3 separate regions of the Homo sapiens genome follow, and all the other regions are linked to region 3. The links are contacts of gene promoters, found by promoter capture Hi-C in blood cells and fetal thymus (Javierre and others, 2016). All regions are on one chromosome and are shown on one strand. The core of a region is centred on a gene start or on the middle of the fragment in contact, and the rest is flanking DNA. Distances in the headings are between cores, read along the strand shown.

Region 1 (3,474 bases), core at 975-3,474, 1.8 Mb before region 3:
AAAGCCTGCATGTTTGGAGAGCTACTCTTCCTGTAAATATATGGATGTACATTATGGGTTAGCTTAGAACCAAGGACGCAGCCAATATGTAATGAGATACAAATGTGTCGGCTCCTGCACTTCCAGAAACAACAGCCCATACAGGTGCACCTGTGCCCGTGTGCCCTTGTGTGTGAACATACACATTATCTACCCACAAAAATTCACAAATTCACAAGAATACAGGTTCAGGAAATGTATACCTCACAACAACATAACATAAACAAAATATATTAACCCTTCACACAACTTTTGCCCACAAATTTTGTTGTGATCAGTGACTGAAATAAAATATAATTAGAGACTAAGAAAAATGTTCTCAGACTTACTGAAGTGCAAGATTCTGCAAGCACAAAGTTGCATACAACAAAATTTAATCATAAGGAATACAAAATCTGATAGGAAAAATAAGAAGATGCAATGATCTGTAATATAAAGTGTGAAAGCTATGTAAGGATATAGACAGAGGAGGGATCATTTTTCAGCTAGGATAATCATGGGAGGCATCAGTTATTAAGATTCTATATCTGGGCTTAATGCCCAGCTCACGGGATTATCAGTAAGTGCTAAATTAGATCATGTACATGAAGTGCTTACCAGGATGCATGGAACATAGTAAGCACTCAATATACAGAGCTTTTATTAGGAGTCATTTTACTTGGGATGCCAAAAAGAAGTGTCCTCAGCAAAGGTCCAGTGGCAGAACCACTTCATGCACCTAAGCATGGCAGTGCACAGCACCAGCTTCTGGAAGGTTTCATTCATGGTCATGATAGTGAGAGGTCAGGACTAGAGGGATGAGCTTGGGCCCTGTGAGAACTGACACTTACACAACCTTAGGGAGTCTCAAGTCTCCCTATAGGAAAGAGGGAGCCATTGCAGCTTTCTAGAGAGGGAGGTTCAACCGAATCAGAGCTCAGGAAACTTGTTTAGCGGTATCTTTGGGGGAAAAATGAGCTGTCTGATCTGGAGTAAGAAGTCCTGTCAGAGCTACGGTCAGTCTAGCAGCCCTAAATGAGCAGGACAGCCAGAGGAACAGAGAAGTGCCAGCAATTACTCCCTTCCCATTACAGTCCATTATTTTCTTGGCCACACTTAGAACAGCAAAGGGCTTGGCACATAAATAGCTTTAAGTATTTGTTCAATGAATAAATGAAGTTGCAAATAAGAGAGGAAATAAATGAAGGCAAATCACTTGATTCATCTAGGATTGTGAAATTGCACAAATCTGGATTTCCTGGACAAACTTAGTTTTGATGCGTCTGAAAATGTCCATCAGTCACACACAGGGCCAAAGTCTTGCATATAGAAGAGAGAAGTATAATTTGTTTGTAAATATGTCTGTGGGTAGAATTTTAATTATGTATTTATGATAAAAGTTAGTAATTTAAGTAAATTGCTCAAGTGTGGTCAATGACATTACTACCCAAGATATCCTTATCTTTTAATCTTATAACAAACACTCAACTCTCACACAACATTGCACTTTTTACCTTGGAGAAGAACACAAGCTCAACTACACCACAATTAAAGCAAACAGACATGTACAAATATTTTAGGTCCATAAAAAGACAAAAAAGCTTGGTAATTGTCTTTATATGTGTGCATTCTGATCCTAACATACCCTCTGTCCAAACTTCTCCATGATAATAGGAGACAGCATTGGCCTAACATCTATAGGAATGAATGCCCCCTAAATTTCTAGTCAAAATTACACTTAAATCTATGAAATATATGAAATACATTCTGTTAAGTCAAAACCCCTTAAAATTTTAAATTGAAATATAATTCACATGCCATAAAAATAATCCCTTTAAATTGCACAATTCAGTGGCATTAGTACATTCTAGACATTGTGTAATCATCACCATTACCTAATTCCAGAATATCTTCACCACCCCAACAAAAAAACCTTGTATCCATTAGCAGTCATCACTATTCCCTCTCCCCTCTGCTTTTGGCAACCACTGATCTACTTTCTATCTCTATGTATCTATCTATTCTAGACTCCCTAAAATTTTGTACAAAACAAGTGTAATAGATTATATTCCAGCTACTGCATACTGTAAAAGCATTTTTACATTAAAAATGGAGATGTGGCATCTTTAAAATGTCTTCAAACAGTTAGAAAATGAGATTCCGAATAACTCCAGTTTCCATGACCTTTTCACACAGAAAGTTGGTATATATATGAACTTACATGTGTGAGTTTATGAGTGAGTGTGCTTTTTACAGAGTGCAGTTAATCCCTTTAGAGATGTTTTTGCTCTGTCAGTTTCAGCTGAAGAAAACATGGTGAGAACCATCTTTGCCACCTTAAAGCCAAAAGTCCACTGAGCAGAATGGCTCACTTTGTTTCTATCAAGATTCTCTCTGCCCAGCTCTCTGTCTGAAAGATCATGAATGTGTTTGACCTGCACTGGTGAGATGAAATGACAGCCACTCCAGGGTCTCATGTGTGCACGATGTTCCTTCTCTAACACATTTCAAGCAAACTGATGACACGCTGTGGTGCTGAACTATGTCTCATGTTAACAAATTCTGGTTAGCTATCCTATTTCCACTCAAAATGTGGGGAGTCCTTTTGTTAATCTCTCAATACATTCAAGAGAAGATTTCACAGACAAGCCAGAATTTGAGCTAGACCTCCAAGGCCAAATTGGAAGTCTGTAGGAAGATGTTCACTAAAATGTAAGCAATGAATTTGGAATAATTTTTATTCTTATGCCTCTCTACAATTTAGGGGGGATCGCTACCTAAAAATAACAGTAACACAACAGGAATCACCCTGAAGCTTTACTCAATATGTTTTCTTAAGTAACTGCCTAGAAAGTATTCTGGGTTTCTGAGACCATTTTCCAAGATCCTTTGGAATTTAGAATGTCTGAAAATTGCATTTAGCCAAGGCTGGTTGCTCTGTAAAAATCTTTTTTGATATAATACCATTTGAAGATACCACTTGGAGGAAGCAAATAAAAGTGGATGACTTAGCAGGAAGCTGTCAGCTGTCAACATGCTACTTCTTAATATATCCTTGGGGCTTATGGGGTCATCCTTTGCATGGATTCCTGCTATTTTGGGCAGCGTGACTGGCTCAGATTCCAAGTCAAATGCTCCCACTGTTTGACCAGTAGGTGGCAGTTCAAAACAACATGAAACTAGTAAGTTCGCAGGGGTTTTAAGAAGTTTCCTCCTCATCTCTTATTATTCTCCAAATAAGATCCAGTTTCCAGTCCCACCTAGGAAGCTCAAGCCTTCACCTGCAGGGGCAGAGCCCCTCATGCTGGGAATGGCCAAGGGGAAAACAAAACAGAACACACTGCGCCTTCCCATGTGCCTTCCCCGGGATAGTTCTTTGTTTCCTTATGCAAGCTCCATGCCCACTGAGGATGCTTACCTCATTGGAATGCGTTCTGTTTTGGTGTTTGGCGCGAT
Region 2 (3,630 bases), core at 897-3,396, 1.4 Mb after region 3:
TAGGATGTGGTTCAATAATTCAGATTCCCAGGTCCTGCCCAAGGCCTCCTAAATGATGGCATCTCTGCAGACACGACCTAGACAGCATTAATTTTTTTTTATTTTTTTATTTCAAGGGTAACCAGGATTAAAAATTACGGGCTTGGCCAGGCGTGGTGGCTCACGCCTGTAATCCCAGCACTTTGGGAGGCCTAGGCGGGTGGATCACTTGAGGTCAGGAGTTTGAGACCAGCCTGGCCAACATGGTGAAACCCCATCTTTACTAAAAATATAAAAATTAGCTGGGCATCATGGTGCACGCCTGTAATCCCAGCTACTTGGGAGGCTAAGGCACAAGAATTGCTTGAACCTGAGAGGCGGAGATTGCAGTGAGCTGAGATTGCACCACTGGACTCCAGCCTGGGTGAGAGACTCCATCTCAAAAAAAAAAAAAAAAAAAAATTCACATTCCCAAAGCCTCTGTGGATATATTTTAACACTGTAGACATAGGTGTGAGCCTCTCGAAACCAAGGTAGATTACATCACTAGCCTACTAAAACCCCCCCACCAAATTTCTAACAGCAAAAATTCTGAACCAATAATAAGAAGCACTTCATAACATGGCCCAGAATGATTTTCTCAGTCTTAGCTTTTTCTGCCTCCCAGCAACACAAGGCCCCATTTTAAACAGGCCTTGCACTTCCACTTCACCTTACAGGGCTTGTTATCTGGGTCTCCTCCTCCCCCTATAAGACCCTTTAAAATACATCTCATCCTTCCAAGGCCAAACTCAATGTTGCCATCTCCAGCAATGTGTTACATATAGCCTTGATGTTGCTTTTAACAATTCTATCGGCCAGGCGCAGTGGCTCACGCCTGTAATCCCAGTACTTTGGGAGGCTGAGGCGGGCAGATCACGAGGTCAGGAGATCGAGACCATCCTGGCTAACACGGTGAAACACCGTCTCTACTAAAAATACAAAAAAATTAGCCGGGCGTGGTGGCGGGCACCTGTAGTCCCAGCTACTAGGGAGGGTGAGGCAGAGCTTGAAGTGAGCCGAGATCGCGCCACTGCACTCCAGCCTGGGTGGCAGAGCGAGACTCTGTCACAAAAAAAAAAAAAAAGAAAAAAAATTCTATCAGCTAGTCTAGCTCCCTACGGTGATTACATGATCCAGGGAAGACATGCGACAAGGGCAAGATAAAACGTTCACCTAGGCCTCATTTCTGCCAAAGCAGAATGTACGTTTGATCTTTCTCCACTTCCTGGAACTTGGTATATGGCCAGCACATTTTCTTTTTATATGAGGGGATTAAAGCAGCTGTAAAAAGCTTAGTCTAACTCCACTTAAAGAAAAAAAAAAAGAGAGAGAGATCAGAGAGTCGGAGTATTTGCCCAAACGCAACATCTACCACTTCCTGAGCCTAAGCACAGTGTAGAAATCTTTCCGACTTATTTTTTTGAGACGGAGTCTCGCTCTGTCGCCCAGACTGGAGTGCAATGCTGCGATCTCGAGTCACTGCAACCTCAGCCTCCCGGATTCAAGCGATTCTCCTGCCTCAGCCTCCCAAATAGCTGGGACTACAGGCCCGCGCCACCACACCTGGCTAATTTTTGTATTTTTAGTAGAGACAGGGTTTCACCATGACCTCAAGTGATCCACCCGTCTCGGCCTCCCAAAGTGCTGGGATTACCGGAGTGAGCCACCGCGCCCGGCCGCCTTTCCAATTTTTTAAGAGCCCTAAGAGCAGTTTAGCCGAGTAAACGGAAGCCCAGGAGCCAGACTTGAGTTTAGGCAAACAGCAATCCAAAACTTTAGTTCTAAAATGCAGAGAGAAAACAACTTGCACTAAGTCACGAAAACTGGCTCGCTGGGGTCATGGACGGTCAACAGGGGCGGCGTCTTCCAGGCCTGGCCGCGCGGGCTAGAGAGGAAGCGTGCGCACTGGCAAGCCAGCACGGAACGAGCAGACGGCCAGGCCCACGGCATCCCACCGCGTCCCAGCCTGCTCCCCAGTTCCACCGCATCCCAGGACCTTCCCAGCCACGCCTGTGTTGTGCACTCGAAACCCACGATCAGCCGCCCCTTCTCCCCGTGCCACAAGACCTACGCAGCGAGCACCACCGCTGACCTCCATCCGCCGCCCTAACTGTCCCCGGAACCATGAGGTGCGCGGCGCGCTTCCCTACGTCACTCGGAGCGCCGGCGGAAACGAGACGAGCCTCGCCCCGCACGTCCGGAAGCCACGCCTCCAGCTTCCGGCCACACCTTTCGGCGGGTGACATCTTTGCTGAGGGCTCAAGCGGAGCGATAGGTCATGGGAAACTTAGAAAAGATAAAGAACCTAGGAAGAAAGGCTTCGGTTGCCCCCCGACCAGTACGCCATCCTCATACGGAGTGCGGGAGACGACCCTTTGTTGTCGGTGCTGTCACCCTATCCCTCCCTGCTTGCGTAGGCGTAGGAGAGTTCCTAGGGCGGTGGAAGACTGGGCTGGTGGAGTGGGATAGGCGACGTTGAGGCCTGTGGGGGCTGGGAGGACGAGTGAGTGGAGACTGGGGAACTCCAGAGCGCCCACTTGCAGCTGGATTTTTATGTGCAATTTTCCTGATTTTTAAATAGTGGTGTTTAATTACAAAGTAAAGTGCAGGATAGCCCAAACGAAATGTATCTGAGGTCTATATATGGACTTGATTAATTTTTACTTCCTGCACAGCCTTTTATTTTCTGTGGAGTTAATAATTACTTGGCTACGCACGGTGGCTCACGCCTGTAATCCCAGGCCTCGGTGGGCGGATCACTTGAGTTCAGGAGTTCGAGACCAGCTTGGCCAACATGGCGAAACCCCGTCTCTACTAAAAATACAAAAAAATTAGCCGGGCGTGGTAGGGCGCACCTGTAGTCCCAGCTACTAGGGAGGCTGAGGCATGAGAATCGCTTGAATCCGGGAGGTGGAGGTTGCAGTGAGCAGCGATCTTGCCACTGCACTCAGCCTGGTTGACAGAGCAAGACTCTGTCGCAAAAAACAAAACAAAAAACATAAAAATAAATAATTACGTTTGTTTGTGTTTGTAAACTAAAAATAAAATTGTAAGCCCCCCAAGCACTGAACGGACCTCCTCTTAGCCAAGGAGACCCCAGAGAAACCTTAAAAACTGAGTTCCCAGCCATTCTGGAAAGGGAGGTTGAACACCCCTTGTTAAAGTAGAGATCATAAGACTAACAGACTTTGTGGTAGTAAGATACCAAATTATAAACAAGACCTAAGGCCGTGCAAGGCAAGGGTTAAGTCAAGCTTGCAGACCATCAATCTTGCTGAAGAGGTCTTTTTTGACCCAGTGTATTGTGGCTGATTCTGGCATACTATCTTAAACATTCTTTTCTGCTGACTCCAAATTTTACACAGAGCCTCACTCTTTTAACCAGTTGCAAATTAAAAAATCTCTTGGTCAAGCTGGCTGAGGTGGGAGGATCACTTGAGGCCAAGAGTTCAAGACTAGCCTGGGCAACATAGGGAGACCCTATCTACCCCTACCAAGAGATCTATCTATCTATCTATCAATCAATCATATATCGTGTATATATCTATGTATTTGAGTCCACATATAACTTGTAAACCCCCCACATCAAGACATCCTGTCTTTTGGAGC
Region 3 (3,623 bases), core at 401-2,900:
TTAAACCAACTAATGAAGGTGAAGAAGATTACAGCATATTTTATGATGATGGTTGTACAACTTTGTGAATGTACTAATGTACTAATTACTTTTAGGTTTTCTTTCTTTTTTTTTTTTTTTGAGATGGAGTCTAGCTCTCTCGCCCAGGCTGGAGTGCAGTGGCGCAATCTCGGCTCACTGCAAGCTCCACCTCCCGGGTTCACACCATCCTCCTGCCTCAGCCTCCCAAGTAGCTGGGACTACAGGCTCCCGCCACCACGCCCGGCTAATTTTTTGTATTTTTAGTGGAGACGGGGTTTCACCGTGTTAGCCAGGACGGTCTTGATCTCCTGACCTCGTGATCCACCCGCCTCGGCCTCCCAAAGTGCTGGGATTACAGGCGTGAGGCACCGCTACGTTTTAAATGGTGAACTCTACGGTAGGTGAACTATGTGTCAGGAAGCTGTTTTATTTTTTTAAAGGACTGAAGACTTTTGTTTTGTGTTTTGTTTTGTTTTCATTTTATCCCGTTTTTAAAACAGTGCCTAGCAATATTATGAATTCAATCGATTTTGGCTAAATGCTAGAACAAAAATTAAAACTTGAGTAAACCATATAAAACTTTGCCATATCTAAAGTTATTAAATTACCGTAGACTGGCATGGTGGGAGCATAATATGAGTGTACCTGCAGGTGTGTTTTCCATGAAAGTAGCAAAGACTGAAAAACTCAGCAGAATCAAGACCCTGTAGGCCCTTGAAGTTAGGCTAAGAAATGTGTATTATCCTGAAAGCAACGGGAAGGCCAGGAAGATTCTGAGGACAGAAATAACACAATCTGATATGCGTTTTAAACGTGCAGGTGTAAGCGGAGAGTTGCTACTTCTATCCAAACGTGAGCCACCTCAGAAATAAAGCAATAGCCCTCCGGGGAGAATGGGGAGGAATCAGGGGAAGACCGGAGAAACAGGTTATCAAATTATCAGAATCTCCATAGATTTTTTTAAATTACACAGCATCCACCCCCAAACACACATACAGACTGATAGGCACTGATATATACATAAATACATCCAATGTCCCCTACACAGAAAATCACTTTTGCAGTCAGCCCCTGTTGGGAGGGTTTTTCTGTTATTCAAGTGTGGTGGGGACAAAAAGTATTATAACCACTAAACCAGGTAATTCTTTCCTACAATAATTTGGGCAGCGTACTCCTCAGGGTGTTGAAATTTAGCACTACCAACAAAAGTGCCCAGTCCCAACTCTTCGAGAGGACCCTAACTCTTTACAGTGTGCTGTTGGGGATGGTCAGCAAAAACTGCAGGACAAGGTCAAGGTTAGCTCGACACAGCCTCCTAACTCCGAGCGGACGGAGCCACTGAAGGTTACCAGGTGCCAAAGAAGCTGCGCAGGGAGGCCGCGACCCGGCGCCGGCGCGAACCTCCGCGATGTGACCCGTGAGGGAACTCTCCAAGAAGCAGCGCACCCCGCGCGCAAAGGCGGCCCCCCGAATTGCAGGAACAAACGCTTCTTGCTGGGGGGAAGACGGAGACTCTTATACCGCGGGAGACTAACCTGTGAGCAACAGAAGCACCACGCTACAAAGAGCATGACGAGTTCTTCCAGGCTTGGGAAAGCACGGGTAAATGCCCGCGGTCCTGCGCGCCAGCGGGGAGCAGTAGAGACTTCCGGCGTCGGCTGCTCGCAGGGCTAGAGCGTCGAACCGGGACAACCGGAGGCTTCAGCTCACCTCGGATTGTAAATGCTAACACGGGTCCTCCGGCCGGCTGATCCAGAACTTAGGTCGCCGGGACGTGTGGCTTCTGCTTCTCAGACGCTCGGACTCGCGCCGGGAAGGGTTTCGCCTCCCCTGGTCCCCGCTTTTTTTTTTTTTTTCTGCGTCCGGTTATTGCAAATGCATTCAGTCCAGTAGCACTAGCCCAGGAAATATAAGCCACCGGCTCACGTTGCTCCTCACAGGTATGCGGCGCTTCCGCTGGCCTCCAAGGACACGAAGCCCCGGGCCGTCTGGCCCCCCACTCTAGCACTGAAATTCCTGCCGCCCCGTTCAGCTGACAAATTTGGCAGCACTAAATTTTATTTTATTCGACAAATTAAGTACCCAGTTAACACCAGGGAGTAACGGGGTAAGAAAATTTCAGAAGGCTGGTGGATAATAATAGCATTTACCTCATAAATTTGTTATGAGGATGTGAAGCACTTAGAGTAGTGTCTGGCAGTTTGTAGGCGCTCAGTAACTGTTAGCTGTTATTATTTTTATATTGATTATTCCATAGTCACCACTATTATCACCTTAATGTCAAGCTTGAAATCCAGTATCTTTCCTCTGCGAAGCCATCACTCCAAGACTAATTAACTTTAGACTGGGGCATTCTTCTTTAAACTCTTGCTCACACATCCCTATCAGAAAAAATATATATATATTTACATGTGTCATGTATGGCATTAATATATTATGCATGCTATAAAACTCACAAGACATCAAACTTTTGATGAGGTAAAAACAATTTTTAAACTTTTTTAAAAACTTCTAACAGAAGTTCTTTTCTTCCTCCACAACAATTAGGTTGCCAAACATACATTCTATCACTCTGGAATCCACTAGCTAAATGAGCACATTATCAAAGCAACCTACCGCTGAATTCTGACTTCCCAGAATGTTTCTTTTCCAAAGAATTAATAGAAACTAATCAGATTGTGAAGTGCTCGGCCATAAGGACTATTTAAATGGTTCTTAGAGAAAAAGAAGAAATAAAATAGGCATCCACTGAGTAATATTCATTGATGCAACATTGATTATTGACTTATTACATTTTCAAAGAGATTGAGGTTATAATACCTTACACCAAGCTTAATATTTCAAAGAATAAATCAACTAATAAAAAGCTTATGAGGTTTGGTATATGTGCATTTCATACAACGTTCATGAAAATGAACCCGAGATCAATTAGCTCCCGTTCTGTACCAGAAAGAGAAATATGTTTACTTTGTAAGTAATAAAACATTAAATAGGCTTTTCTGACCATTTGCTTGAAAACTCAGAACTTAACATTTCTATCACTGGACTTAAATCTGCTAAAGTTTTCGTCTAAATTTTACATTAAAAACAAAACTCTATAGTGAATAATGTTACCTATCCAATATTCATTTTCCTCTAACTCCTTTGTACCAAAATCCTTATTTTATTCAGATAGCTGCCCTGTTCCCAGAATCAAAATGATACTGATTAAACCAGTCATCACACAGAATTTTTTTGTCGTCTAAATTTTACATTAAAAACAAAACTCTATAGTGAATAATGTTACCTATCCAATATTCATTTTCCTCTAACTCCTTTGTACCAAAATCCTTATTTTATTCAGATAGCTGCCCTGTTCCCAGAATCAAAATGATACTGATTAAACCAGTCTTCACACAGAATTTTTTTGGAAATAGTTGCTAATCAAGGAACGAGTATATGACCCAGGTTGGCGCAATCTGACTGAAGGAAAGGACCTCTATTTCATGCTCAGGAGAAAGTTTCTGATATACTGTCCTCTTGACGTCGAAACATCTATCCCACACTGTCATTAGTAGCCATCTTGCCCATCACAAGGAATAAAACTGATGGACCAATGCTGA

What was found. Contacts are between HindIII fragments. The CHiCAGO score rates a contact against its expected background, and 5 or more counts as called.
Region 1: a contact is called between a fragment that was not itself captured here and the fragment with the promoter of COA1 in region 3, in 2 of 17 cell types (total B cells and naive B cells). The highest score is 7.8, in total B cells.
Region 2: a contact is called between the fragment with the promoter of TBRG4 here and the fragment with the promoter of COA1 in region 3, in 11 of 17 cell types (total CD4 T cells, activated CD4 T cells, fetal thymus and 8 more). The highest score is 19.7, in total CD4 T cells.

What each region holds. Positions count from the first base shown.
Region 1 is chr7:41,974,122-41,977,595 of GRCh38, forward strand. It overlaps GLI3 (GLI family zinc finger 3), which reads right to left. Exons shown (of 15, transcript NM_000168.6): 12 at 3,437-3,474. Among named protein-coding and RNA genes, the nearest start is that of GLI3, 260 kb to the right of the region's middle. The HindIII fragment of the contact is 1,214 bases long and covers 1,618-2,831 here.
Region 2 is chr7:45,109,551-45,113,180 of GRCh38, forward strand. It overlaps TBRG4 (transforming growth factor beta regulator 4), which reads right to left and starts at 2,147. Exons shown (of 11, transcript NM_004749.4): 1 at 2,093-2,147. RefSeq lists enhancers at 1,846-2,555, 1,919-2,674. The HindIII fragment of the contact is 1,963 bases long and covers 1,311-3,273 here.
Region 3 is chr7:43,727,873-43,731,495 of GRCh38, forward strand. COA1 (cytochrome c oxidase assembly factor 1) reads right to left here and starts at 1,651. Exons shown (of 6, transcript NM_018224.4): 1 at 1,557-1,651. RefSeq lists enhancers at 937-1,666, 1,667-2,395, 1,762-1,961. The HindIII fragment of the contact is 9,306 bases long and covers 1-2,304 here.